Regions from separate parts of the Homo sapiens genome. Here regions 1 and 2 are each linked to region 3. The links are contacts of gene promoters, found by promoter capture Hi-C in blood cells and fetal thymus (Javierre and others, 2016). All regions are on one chromosome and are shown on one strand. Each heading gives the region's core, a stretch centred on a gene start or on the middle of the fragment in contact. The rest is flanking DNA. Distances are from core to core; before and after follow the strand shown. Region 1 overlaps ARHGEF6 (Rac/Cdc42 guanine nucleotide exchange factor 6). Region 2 overlaps ARHGEF6 (Rac/Cdc42 guanine nucleotide exchange factor 6). Region 3 holds the start of RBMX (RNA binding motif protein X-linked).

Region 1 (4,494 bases), core at 706-3,205, 200 kb after region 3:
CTTTGGCTTACAGTGACATCATAATGCTGTACTGTAACCTTTGATGAATGAAGCTTTCCCTTATGCTTGTTTTGTCCCTTGTTATAATTGGTGGCTAAAATATGAAGATGCAATTTTGACATGTAAGTACTTTGTTCAAAAAGCAGGCTTGTGTGAAATACATATAAAAATGTCATAATGCCCTAAAATGCCCATTTTCCTGTGTTTTTTTTTAAATTCTGTTTTTTCCTGTTATTTTTGTCATGTGAGAGTTTTTCATATCTGTCTTGTTTTCAAGTGTAAGTACTGTGGCTAAGTGAAATAAATTAAATGATTTGTTTCCTATATTTTTAAGGTACTATTAATAATTAATATCCATGCTCCATGTATACACATTTCTTGGAAAATTGGGATTAGGTGATCATGAGAGTTTTTTCCTAAGTCTAAGGTTGTAATCTGTTTACAGATTATTGGATTAAGGATTAAGGATATTGACAATGAGTATTTTTTTGACCTGCTGGTTACTCATATGGCAAAAACAAATTCAATACATTTATTTTGTCTACTAGTTAAATACATGGCTTTATATATGGATAGTTAAGTTTGGCTGTGGGTGTGTTACTTCTAACCCAAAATTATTTTTTAGGAAATCCTTCATTTGGTTCTTCTCTTTGACTGCGGAAAAATGGCTTAGTCTCTCTGCCTTAATTTTTCTGTCTCACAAATGGAAATTATATTCTTATTTGTGGGACTGTTTCTAAGGCAGAATTATTTAAATAGCTTTGAAGCTCTTTGAAAAGTGATCATTACTACATTAGTGGTTACAGTGGTTATTTAGTTCCCCTAAAACTGTATCAGTGGGGAACGTAAACCAAATTAGGAATACTGTTACGTTTTTAGGGTTGACATCCCTTACTTTCTCTGCAGATGGTTCCCTAAAGCCATTTGGCCTCCTGGAGAATCTGCCACATCTTCAGTAGGCACACTCCACTCTTAGTCCCACCTCTGTGCAAGTTGAGAGGATAATGTCATTGCCTCTGTTTTATTTAACCTTTTAGAGTTTATTGGAACCATTTTAATTGTGCATAGAATTAAACATTGATGTACTCCTAACTGAGACTGTCAAAATAAGAGAGAGGAATTCTACTTAGTTTCATTCATGCTTTTACTTTTGTTTTTGAGGGAGAATTTTAATTCATTAAGAAACCTCTGTCCTCACAGGAGTCTAGTAAAAGCCCTAAAACGATGAAGAAATTTCTTCATAAAAGGAAGACTGAGAGAAAACCATCGGAGGAGGAATATGTGATTAGGAAAAGTATGTGTTTTGTACTTTCTGAAAGTTGTTTATGGATAAATTAACATGAGAATCTTCTTTTATGTGAGGATTTATTTGAAAGCAGATGATTGGAGCAATTTTTTCTTGACATCGTCTTTTACATATAAAGAAGAATGCATGGAAAGCTTTGGTCACTTCTTAAACATTTGAATAAGCTTCTTACGGCTGCACTTCATGTCATCTTAGGCAGATGTCATCTGTATCATTTTTGTGTTGAGTATTTTGCCTCACCTGGTTTAGAACCTCTAAAGGGACCCATTTCCTATGGATACATTTTTTCCCTCTTAGTTTCTGATACTTGAGATATTTTTCTGCAGGGAGATAGACTAAATAGACCCGAAGGCTGAAGTCCTTCCAGAAGTCCCATGCTCAGTGATGCTCTCAGTTACTCAGGGAATCAGCCTGCCCACATCTAGAAACATAGTTTCATTTGGAGACAGACTGCAAAGTCAGTCAGCCAGTCGATATGGACATATTTGGCTATAAGGCTGTGAACAAGGTACTTTGGGACACAAGGTACTTTGGGACACATGTGAAGGAGTAAGTGATGTCTCACAAAGAGGTGACAGAATTGTGTGTATCAGCTGGGAATATAGTTTGGATAAATATTTGCTCCACTTCAGCTTTGGCATGCCCCACCCCCCACCCCACACCTGGTTATGCACACTGGCGTGTTCACAGGGTGCTGCCATCCAGCCATTGCAAGAATGAGTTTGGAGTAGAGGAGAAGGGAGAAGGGAAAATGAGTGACTATGCTGACTGGTTAGAAAATTGGGTGGGGTTGGCCGGGCACGGTGGCTCATGCCTGTAATCCCAGCACTTTGGGAGGCTGAGGCGGGCAGATCACAAGGTCAGGAGATCGAGACCATCCTGGCTAACATGGTGAAACCTCGTCTCTACTAAAAAAAATACAAAAAAAATTAGCCGGGTGTGGTGGCGGGTGCCTGTAGTCCCAACAACTCGGGAGGCTGAGGCAGGAGAATGGCGTGAACCCGGGAGGCGGAGCTTGCAGTGAGCCGAGATCGCGCCACTGCACTCCAGCCTGGGCAAGAGTGTAAGACTCCGTCTCAAAAAAAAGAAAAGAAAAGAAAAGAAAATTGAGTGGGGTTAATGAGGGAAAGCTTCCTAAAGGTGAGCCTTGAAATTTAAAGGAGAGGAAGGCTGGGGTATATTGATGGGAGCTAAGCTAGCAACAAGCTCAGTGCTGTGATTTTGGCCTCACTGAGACCACTGACAAAACACCGCCCCCCCCACCCCGGTCCCAGTGTAGAGCTCTGGGCTTCAGGAGTAGGCCCTCCACTAAGCTGAGCTCACTGAGGCTGACTCCAAAGCTCCATGAGGATGCTGTCACTCTTCTCCATCACCAGCGTTGGACAGCTCTTTCTCCTGCCTTTCACAAACTCTACTGGTCAGAGAAGCCAGTCCCAGGCAGTGGAGTGTGCTGCATCATTTTGAGGGTCCAAAAGCATATATCTATGAAAAGTCATGATGAATTAAATTTCACAGGTACAGCTGCTCTGGAAGAGGATGCTCAAATCCTTAAAGTGATCGAAGCCTACTGCACCAGCGCAAATTTTCAACAAGGCCATGGCTCAAGTAGGTTCCCCCAAACTACTTTCTCTAGTGAGTGACGTTTCTTCCTTACTGTTTAGTGTCTTTTAGAAAAAGAGAAAAGCAACCCGGATGGGTTGCAGGGTGTGGAAAGCAGGTGACTTGGTGCAGAGGAGTGGTGCAGGACTGCATCTTTCAGATAAGGTGGTTTTAGCTACCAAGCGGTTTGTTTACCCACTGTTGTTTTTCACCCAGAAAGAGAGATGCAAGAGTAAAAGAGTTGGAGGTGATAGAAGTGAAAATTTTTTTTTAAAGTTGTTCTCCTTTGAAGTACACAGATACCTTCACCAACACTAGTTAGGAATTAAAGGGCCTAGAGAGTTCCTGTGTCTGTGAACTGATGCTAATCTCTTCTTATAGGCAGATTTGGAAAGGAAGTCAAAATACTATCTTTGATCAGCTGCATATTTAAACGAACAATGCTTCACCAAACTCAAGTTTCAAAGTTGCTCTGAAAATCTGGAAAGGTAGCTGCTTAGCAGAGGTTGTCCAAAATGTATAAAGTTGATCAGGGAGTTATTAGGTTAGGGTATTTCCCCAAACAACTTTCAGGTTACAAACTGAAAGCAAGATAATATTTTCTGATTCATCTTTATGCTTTTAAAAAGACAGGTCACTTCGATTATGTCTTTTGTCTCCCATTATTATAGACATTCAGAATACCTTTTGTGAAGTTTTTGCACCTGCATAAGAAATGAATACTCCATAGTACTCCATTTTGGACATCCAGTGACCAATCATTTGAATGTGGGAGGGGATTTCTTAGGTGCCTTGACATATTCTTTCAAAGTAATGCATCTCTAAGGCTGACATAAAAGAAGCATTCTACTGGGCATGATGGCTCACGCCTGTAATCCAGCACTTTGGGAGGCCAAAGCAGGCAGATCCCTTGAGGCCAGGAGTTCAAGACCAGCCTGGGCAATATGGGAAAACCCTGTCTCTACTAAAAACACAAAAGTTAGCCGGGTGTGATGGCGCACACCTGTAGTCCCAGCTACTTGGGAGGCTGAGGCAGGAGAATCTCTTGAACCCGGGAGGTGGAGGTTGCAGTGAGCCAAGATTGCACCACTGCACTCCAGCCTGGGTGACAGAGTGAGACACCATCAAAAATAAATAAATACAAGAGAACGAGAGGTGGGGGGAGAGAGAGAGAGAGAAAGAGAGAGAGAAAGAAAGCATTCAATGATTCAATGTGAAAGTTGACGCATTTGGCCATGAAGAGAGGACTGTCGCACTCTGCTTCACAGAGAAAACCTGGCTGTGGCTTTGGGCATGCATAGCTCTGATAACATGTTTCAAGGAGCCAGGAGAGGAAAGTGAGGGCAGCTTTAGTTTTGAGAACTAGAGAAGAGAGGGGGACAAAGAGATACCAGAAGCATCCCTTCTACAAAATCTGACCTCATCTCCTCCCGCACCACCTATTTTTATATTTGACAGAGTGGATGGGTCTGCAGCTGGGAAGTGCAGCCAGATATTCTGGCTTAAAAAGACACGTCTTCACCCTTGCTCCCTACCCAACCTTTTACATGTGGAAGATGTCTGGCACTGTGCTTGTCACACAGCAGATC
Region 2 (4,527 bases), core at 1,237-3,736, 180 kb after region 3:
TTTTTTCCTTCAACACTTTAAATATTTCATTCCATTCTGTTGTTTGCATGGTTTATAATGAGAAGTCTGATACAATTCTTATCCTTGTTCCTCTACAGGTAAGGTGTTTTTCCCTGTCTGGCTTCTTTCAAGATTTTCTCGTTGCTTTTGCCTTTCTGCAGCTTGAATATGAAATGGCTAGGTGTAGATATGTTTTGCTATATATCCTGCTTGGTGTTCTCTGAGATACCTGGATCAGCAGTTTGGGGTCTGTCAATAATTTTGCAAAATTCTTGGCCTAATAGGGTCAACATTTTAAATATTTCTTCTCTTTTCTCTTTCTTTTCTGTCTATATTCCCATTATGCATGTTACACCTTTTGTACTTGTTCCACAGTTTTTGTGTATTCTCTTCCATTTAAAATTTTTTTCTTTACATTTAAGTTTAGGAAATTTCTATTGACATATCTTGAAGCTCACTGTTTCCTCAGCTATGTTTAGCCTATTTGTTAGACTATCAAAGGCATTCTTCATTTCTGTCACAGTGTTTTTTATTTCAGGCATTTTCTTTTGATCATTTCTTAGTGTTTCTATCACTCTGCTTACATTACCCATCTTTTATTACATGTTGTCTATCTTTATCTGTTAGAACCTTTAACATATTAACCATAGTTATTTTGAATTCCCTAATAATTCCAAAATTTGTGTCATATCTGAGTCTGATTCTAAAGCTTGCTTTGTCTCCTCAGACTGTTTTTTTCTTGCCTTTCAGCATGCCTTGTAATGTTTTGTTGGAAGGCAGACATGATAAATTAAGTAATAGGAACTGAGGTAACTAGGTGTTTACTGTGAGGTTTTCTGTTAATCTGACTAGGATCTTGCCTGTGTTTAATGTTTGCTGTAGCTGTAAGTATGAGGGGCTTTAGATTTTTTTTGTTTCCTTTCCTTCTCTCTTATTAACTTTGGCTTTCTTTCTTTCCTTTCTTTCCTCTTTTTTTTTGTCTCACTGTCTCCCAGGCTGGAGTGCAGTGGCGCGATCTCAGCTCACTGCAACCTTTGCCTCACAGGTTCAAGCAATGTTCATGCCTCAGCCCCCTGAGTAGCTGGGATTACAGGCATGTGCCACCACGCCTGGCTAATTTTTTTGTATTTTTAGTTTAGACAGGGTTTCATGAAGTTGGCCAGGCTGGTCTCAAACTCCTGACCTCAAGTGATCCACCTGCCACAGCCTCCCAATCCTGCTGAGATTGCAGGCCTGAGCCACCGCGCCCTGCCTATCTTTGGGTTTCTTAAGAACTCCTTCTTAAATAGAGTCTGTGTCTTGCAGATCCCTCCCTGTAATCCACTGTTATTATATATTGGGGCCCTGTCAATGTGGTGATAAGGTGTTGGGGAAGGGGACACATTCTATAATGTTATGAACAAGTCTCAATTTTTTAGTAGACCTGAGTCCCTGGAAATTGACCTCCAGAAGCAATTCTTAGCCTTTTTTAGTCCTCTCACATATGGCAGGAAGATGAGAGAGGGCTGAAGCTGGCCTATTGTACCTTCCTCAGGTCAGATAAGACTTGGCAACATAGTTTCCCTTGGAAGACAGGCCTTTGTTTTGGAAAAGGTTCTGGGATTATTTCAAAATGGATGCTCCACCCCGCCCCCACTCCTATCCCAAAACATGAGAGGATTTTTCTCTGATCTTCACTATGGAACATTTTTGGGTTTTTGGATCCCAAACCCACAAAAGCATTGCCCCGCCTCAAGATGGTTCTCCAGGAGCTTTTAAATCTCAAGTTGGGGTCCACATTCAGACTCCAGGAATTCATTAAAATCACTATGCAAGTGTTCCTGCCAGTTACTGGGTCCAGTGGCTTCTGCTTTAGGGAAGCTAATCTCAGCTGTAATTCTCTGTATTCACTGTTTCTCCAGATTTTGAGGTGGTGATTTTTTCTGTGATCTCAATTCTCAGTAAATCTAACAAAAGTCATTGATTTTCAGTTTGTTCAGTATTTTTTTAATTATGACTATAGTGTGATGACTTCCAAGCTCTTTCGATGTCAGAGCTGAAATCAGAAGTGCTTTAATGATTTTTTCACTATATTTTATTTTTTTATTATTTTAAACGTTTTTGTTATAAATTTTCTCTATAATATTTCACTATATTTTGGGGTGTCTTTTAGTGGTTACTCTAAAACTTTCCATATATATCTTATCAGAATGGACTTCATTTTTTATGCTAACTTAATTCTAGTTATATATAAAAATGTGACTCCTGTATAACTGTTTCCTCTTCCCTTTTTGTTATTATTATTATAAATATGAACTCCATATACACAATAATACATGCTATAATTGTTATTTAATTTTATGTCCATTAATACAACTGAGAGAAGAAAGGAAAGGAAAAATATATTTATAGTGTTTGTTATATTAACTTTCTTATTTACCATTTCTATTTCCCTTCATTTTTTCCTGTGAATTTGTGTTACTATCTGGTATTATATTCTTATTCCAACAGACCTTTGCTCCCACCTTTCTCCTTCATGCTGTGGTTTTCAAATATATTAAATTTATGTGTGTATAGGTCCAACAATGAAATTATAAAATTTTGCTTTGGCCAATTGCTTTTATATCAGTTAAGAGAAGAAGAAGCATGTATTTATACTGTCTTTCATAATTGCATATTTACCTTTATTGGTGCTCTTTGTTTTAATATGTGAATTTAAATTTAAGTCTGGGTTTACTTGCTTTCAGCCTGAAGGTCTTCACTGAGTGCTTATTGTAAGGTGGATTTTTAAGAAAGGATTCTCTTAGTTCTTGTCTGGGAATGTTTTCATTCCACCTTCCATTTTGAAAGATAGTTTGGATGAATACAGAATTCTTGGTTGGCAGTTCTGTTTCTTTCAGTACTTTGAGTATGTCATCCCACTGCCTTCTGGCCTCCAAGATTCTGATGAGAAATCAGCTGTTAATATTATCTAGGTTCTCTAGCCCATGACGAGTTGTTCTTCTCTTCCTGCTTTCAGTTTTCTCCTTGACTTTCAGGATTTTTATTATAATTTGTTTGAGTGTGGACCTCTTTGCATTTATCCTACTTGAAATTCATTGAGCTTCTTGTATGTGTGGGTTGATGTTTTTCTCAAATTTGGGAATTTTAGTCATTATTTCTTTGCATATTTTTTCTGCTCCATTCTCTCTCTCCTCTCTTTTTAGTACTTCCATTATGTATATGTTCTTTTGCTTAAAGATTTTCCATATTTCTCTGAGGCTGTATTCGTTTTTCTTTATTCTTTTTTCTCCTTTTTATATTGCATAATCTCTATTGATGTATTTTAAGTTTACAGATTCTTTCTTCTGCCAGTTCAGATCAGCTGTTGAGCCCCTCTAATGAAATTTTAAATTTCAGTTATTTTACTTTTAAACTCTAGAATGTTCATTTGGTTCTTCTTCTTTCTTTTTGTTTACAATTTCAGCATCTTTATGGATGTTCTCTATGTGGTGAGACATTGTCATCATAGCTTCCTTTACTTCTTTAAGCATGGTTTCCTTTTGTTCTTTGCACATATTTATAATGGCTACTTTGAAGACTTTATTAAGTCTGACATTTTGCCTCTTACTGACAATTTCTGTTGTTTCTTATTTGTGTAAGTTACACATTGCTGTTTCTTTGTGTGCCATATTGTTTTTTGTTGTTGAGAACAAGACATTTTAGGTAATTTTAGATTTCACAACTGTGATACTGATTTCATTCCCCACTCTCTGGGACATGTTTTTGTTGTTTGCTTATGTGTTTGTTTAGTAACTCGATTTGACTATTTTAGTGAAGTCTATTTCGCTCACAGAGTACAATCTCTGGTATCGCTCTTCAGAGGGCACAGCCTTGGTCAGGCATGCAGTCACTCTGGAATGACAGTGGTCTTAGCAGAGCTGTCTTTGACTGTCTCACTCCCTGATCTCTCCTTTAAGCCCCGTTTGGTATCACATCCAGGTGTTAGGCTCTCCTAATTTCCAGCTGATTGGCTCTAATATTTTTGATAATTTCATGGGGACATAAATTGCTCCACCATCTGATCTAATTAAGTTCAAGTGGAGACACTTTTTGAGACTAGACTTTGAGGTTTCTTCTGATCCTTCTTAGCACTTCCTGGCTGTCTGTTTCCCTGGTTCTCTCTCTGGTGACCTAGCTGGCCTATGGGTTAGCTTTTTGCACTTAAGTGACAGGAGCTACCTGCCTCCTTTTATTGGCTTACTACCAAAATCTCCTTTGTTTTGGCAAGAGCTCTTAAGCTTGAATATCCCCACATGCCTTTTTTCCAAATAAAACCAATTTCTTCATGGAGAGCTTCAGAACTCTTCTGTTCCCATGGACTGCGTCTCCCTCTGGGCAAAATCTCACTACTCTGGGAGCTGGGCAGCATGGGTACCCTCTGGTTGCCTCTTCCAGCTTGCCTTTTCCAGCATGGAACTCTCTACCCTACACTTGGGCTGGGGTGAGGGTGATTGGGCCTACTCTCCAGCCTGTGTCGGGGCTGCGTGAAGTGAGCTTTCGACCTCT
Region 3 (4,235 bases), core at 261-2,760:
TTCCCCCCTCAACAAGTAGGATGGGCAGATGAAATATAGAATGCTCAGTTAAATTTGAATTTCCGATAAACAGCGAATTTTTAAAATATGAGATTTGGGACATACTATACTAAAAAAAGTATTCGTTATCTGAAATTTAAACTTAACTGGGCGTCCCTTTTTTTTTTTTTAGACGAAGTCTCGCTCTGTTGCCAGGCTGGAGTGCAGTGGTATGATCTTGGCTCACTGCAACCGCCGCCTCCTGGGTTCAAGCAATTCTCCTGCCTCAGCCTCCCGAGTAGCTGGGACTACAGGCACACGCCGCCACGCCCGGCTAATTTTTTTATTTTTTATTTTTATTTTAGTAGAGACGGGGTTTCACCATGTTGCCCAGGCTGGTCTCAAACCCCTGAGCTCAGGCAATCTGCCCGCCTCGGCCTCCCAAAGTGCTAGGATTACAGGCATGAGCCACCGCGCCCCGGCCGCGTCCCATATTTTTATTTAAAATTTTTTAACAGCTTCGCAGAATAAATTAGCGTCCCGCATTTTCTTTTTTATTTTGAGACGGAGTCTCGCTCTGTCGCCTGCCCAGGCTGGAGTGCGGTGGCGCAGTCTTGGCTCACTGCAACCTCCGCCTCCCGGATTCTCCTGCCTCAGCCTCCCGAGTAGCTGGGACTACAGGCGCGTGCCACCACGCCTGGGTAATTTTTTGTATTTTTAAAAAGAGACGGGGTTTCACCGTGTTAGCCAGGATGGTCTCCATCTCCTGACTTCGTGATCCACCGACCTTGGCCTCCCAAAGTGCTGGGATTACAGGCGTGAGCCACTGCACCCGGCCTGGTATTTTCATTTATTAAATCCGGCATCCTTACCCACAGGCCTGACTCTTGTCTTTTCCCTGGAGTTGTATTTTCCTGGCCTAGCCCAGAGCCCACCATTTACAAGGTGCTCAGTAATTGTTCTATATGAATGTACTATCTGCATGCTGTTTTGTACGTTTTTTACTCATCTGAAATTTACATGTATTTATCAGAAATTCCCACACTCACTAAAAACACTTGTTAAAGACAATTTTTGAAAATATATTATATTGCCAAAACTTCTTTGTTTTCCGTTTCTGCAAAATTGGTATAGTAGGAGTATCTACCCTCATCACATTTTGACAATTAGAAGAGTTAATGGAAAAGTAAAAGTAAAGTTTTGCACCGTGCCCGGCCCACTAGGACGCTCAATAAACTTCAGTTCTTTATTAAAGGAAGCCTGTGCACCATTTTAGCGTAAAGCAAAAAAAGCGCGTTTGTAAAGAACGGGTGGGGGTAGAGAAAACGGTTAGAAAGGTCTGTCGACCCAACACCGAGGGCCCGGGAAAAAGGGAGGAGAGAAGGGTGAATGACAGAGGAGCCAGCCAATGGGGAGACTGGGAACTACTTCCCCCCTCCCTTTGCGTTTCAAATTCTAAGCTCCGTTTCCATCCGGGTCCTTCAGCCTCGTTCCCGGGCAGTATAAAGTTTGCTGTCTCCTTTGTTCGCCCTCGTTGCGCAGTAGTGCTAGCGGCTTCGCGGTTCGGTCCTCGCACCCGGCAGCCGCCACTGGTGCTGAGCTGCTAGGAAGCCCCTATCGCCGAGCTCGTTGGAGCTTGAACCCATTGTCACCCCTCCGGTACGTGTCTCCTTTCCTCAGTCCGTTTTTCGTGACACTCTCCCCGTGTTAGGACTGGGGATTATATCTCCCTGGAGATGGGGGTGGCGGGCGCCATTTTAAGAACCCAAAGGTTCCGACCTATTTAAATAAAGCTGAGGGGGTCGAGGGAAAACAAATGAGGGGGCCCGTTTGGTTGTATGCTTCTCGAGAAAGTTTGGCTGCCATCTGCGGGAGTTGGTAGCGGAGGTCGGGGCTTTGTAGGCTGGAGCGGGGCGAGGAGCGACCGCACCACGGCGATACCTGCATTGGTATGGCGCTGGCGCTAATGATGGGCATGTGGACTTCCATGCGGGCTGCGGGCTTCGTATTCATTGGCGGCCCCGGAGAAGAAGCCCTCTGAATGTTCCCAGCCAATGTTGGTGGTAAAAGTTAGTCCCCTGACCAGTGTCGGTGGTTCTGGGTTGAATCCAAGTGTCGCCATTTTGTCTTTTACACGCGGTTTTTAATGACGAGTTTTAATTAGGTTCCGCTGCAGTCACGGAGTGTCGAGTGTTAGTGTGTGCGTCCGCGTTCCGTTACTTAATAGCAAACGATGTTGACGATTTGTTTTTATCTTTTTGGCCGGATAGTAGAATTTTCGGTAGGGCGGGGGCCGGTGAAGAAGAGGGGCGGCATAACTTGGCTTAAACTTCACATTTCTCCTTGGATTTAGTAGGGAATCCTAATGAGGAAAAGAGGAGTCGTTGGAAGAGGGCTTGGTGTTAAGGTCCTGTGTCTAGCCTGTGACCTTGGGAGTCTTTTAAAACCATCGTTAGGAAGGGTGTGATGAGTAATTGAATCTTTCAAAGGCAAGAGGACTGGAACTAAAAGTTGCTTTTTCAAATGTTAAGCAGCTGTTGCTTAAGAACAGCTAAGGGTGATCAAGGGTAGTGGTAAAAGTTAAGTTGGCCCTTTTAACCAGTTTTATGTAAATTGCAGTGTTACTAAACTACTTAGTTCAAATTGCTTCCTACTGTGGCTGAGGCTTAGCTCGTTATCGTTTTCTTTAGTTATTAAGGAACAATGGTTTTAGTGGAAAATATGAGAAATGTGCGAAAGTAAAAGTGTCCAATAAACTTGAGGAACTTTTTGCAGTGAGGTAATACTATTCCTTTTCAACAGACTCACCGGCCCAAAAAAAAAAAAACATGGTTGAAGCAGATCGCCCAGGAAAGCTCTTCATTGGTGGGCTTAATACGGAAACAAATGAGAAAGCTCTTGAAGCAGTATTTGGCAAATATGGACGAATAGTGGAAGGTGAGTTGTCTGGCAGTACAGGCTGGGCTATTATAATTAAAATATAAGCTATGATGAATTTGATTGCATTGATCGTCTGACATGATAATGTATTTTTGTCCTCTAAGAAGTTCTGAGCTTTCTGTTTACACATTTACTTTGGTTATTTCATTTGACCTAGGGTAACACTTTATTTTTCTGAAAACTACTTTTTAGTACTCTTGATGAAAGACCGTGAAACCAACAAATCAAGAGGATTTGCTTTTGTCACCTTTGAAAGCCCAGCAGACGCTAAGGATGCAGCCAGAGACATGAATGGAAAGGTGAGATTGTCTACACGATGGATGATAACCTGTTACTAGTGCATAAAATAACATGTAGTTGTCCAAGTCTGGTCTAGGACAGCTTTTGAGTTTTCGTTGTTTTTCAGTATATACCTGTCTGGGATCCACTCATCCTGTTTGTGATCCTGTTCCAAAGAGTATTCTGTAATTGCAGAACCAAATCTAGTAGTGAGTTATATCTTATGCTCGTAACATTCTCTCAGTTCAGAATAATTATGGCATTACATGGTACTTTTTTTTTTTTTTTTTTGATAGTCTCCCTCCGTTGCCTAGCCTGGAGTGCAATGGTGCAGTGCCCACTGCAGCCTGTCTCCCGAGTTCTAAGCGATTTTTCTGCCTCAGCCCCCCCCCCCCCCCCCAGTAGCTGGGATTACAGGCATGCGCGACCACGCCCGGCTAACTTTGTATTTTTAGTAGAGACAGGGTTTCACCATGTTGGCCAGGCTGGTCTCAAACTCCTGACTTCAGGTGATCCAGCTGCCTCCGCCTCCCAAAGTACTGGGATTACAGGTGTGAGACACTGCGAGCCACTGCGCCCAGCCAACATGATACATTTTATCTTGAGATCCATAAGCCATATTTTGATAACTTGGCTTTTGGTTTTGGCTACTAGTTTTGATAACAAGCTGATACCTACTTGGCCTTGTTTTAAATTTTACCATACAATAATGCAGTGGGTTCACCTTATGTTTCAATCCAGATCATCAGTATCGGTTTTAAGTATTAAGAATTTTAAGCGGAAAAGCCCCATTTATGTAAACTGACTATATTTGCAGTGTTTTTTCTTAGACTAATGAGCAACACTTACCCATAACTGCATTTTGAAGGACCAGTTAGTGTCTTAGTGCATAGTAGATGTGCAAATTATTTTTAAATCTTGATTTAATTTAATCGTATCTTTTTTTTTAGTCATTAGATGGAAAAGCCATCAAGGTGGAACAAGCCACCAAACCATCATTTGAAAGTGGTAGACGTGGACCGCCTCCACCTCCAAGA

Evidence for each region. Contacts are between HindIII fragments. The CHiCAGO score rates a contact against its expected background, and 5 or more counts as called.
Region 1: a fragment that was not itself captured here is called in contact with the fragment with the promoter of RBMX in region 3 in 1 of 17 cell types (monocytes); the score reaches 5.6 in monocytes.
Region 2: a contact is called between a fragment that was not itself captured here and the fragment with the promoter of RBMX in region 3, in 1 of 17 cell types (naive B cells). The highest score is 6.9, in naive B cells.

The regions. Positions count from the first base shown.
Region 1 is chrX:136,673,424-136,677,917 of GRCh38, reverse strand. ARHGEF6 (Rac/Cdc42 guanine nucleotide exchange factor 6) reads left to right here. Exons shown (of 22, transcript NM_004840.3): 18 at 1,201-1,294; 19 at 2,822-2,911. Among named protein-coding and RNA genes, the nearest start is that of CD40LG, 28 kb to the right of the region's middle. RefSeq lists an enhancer at 3,712-3,771. The HindIII fragment of the contact is 966 bases long and covers 1,473-2,438 here.
Region 2 is chrX:136,696,968-136,701,494 of GRCh38, reverse strand. The region is part of intron 9 of ARHGEF6 (Rac/Cdc42 guanine nucleotide exchange factor 6); the gene reads left to right. Among named protein-coding and RNA genes, the nearest start is that of CD40LG, 51 kb to the right of the region's middle. The HindIII fragment of the contact is 3,550 bases long and covers 712-4,261 here.
Region 3 is chrX:136,878,000-136,882,234 of GRCh38, reverse strand. RBMX (RNA binding motif protein X-linked) reads left to right here and starts at 1,510. Exons shown (of 9, transcript NM_002139.4): 1 at 1,510-1,638; 2 at 2,782-2,916; 3 at 3,112-3,218; 4 at 4,149-4,235. The coding sequence starts at 2,808. SNORD61 (small nucleolar RNA, C/D box 61) reads left to right here and starts at 2,964; the gene lies at 2,964-3,036. RefSeq lists enhancers at 1,387-1,985, 1,655-2,114, 2,125-2,184, 1,986-2,585. The HindIII fragment of the contact is 13,799 bases long and covers 1-4,235 here.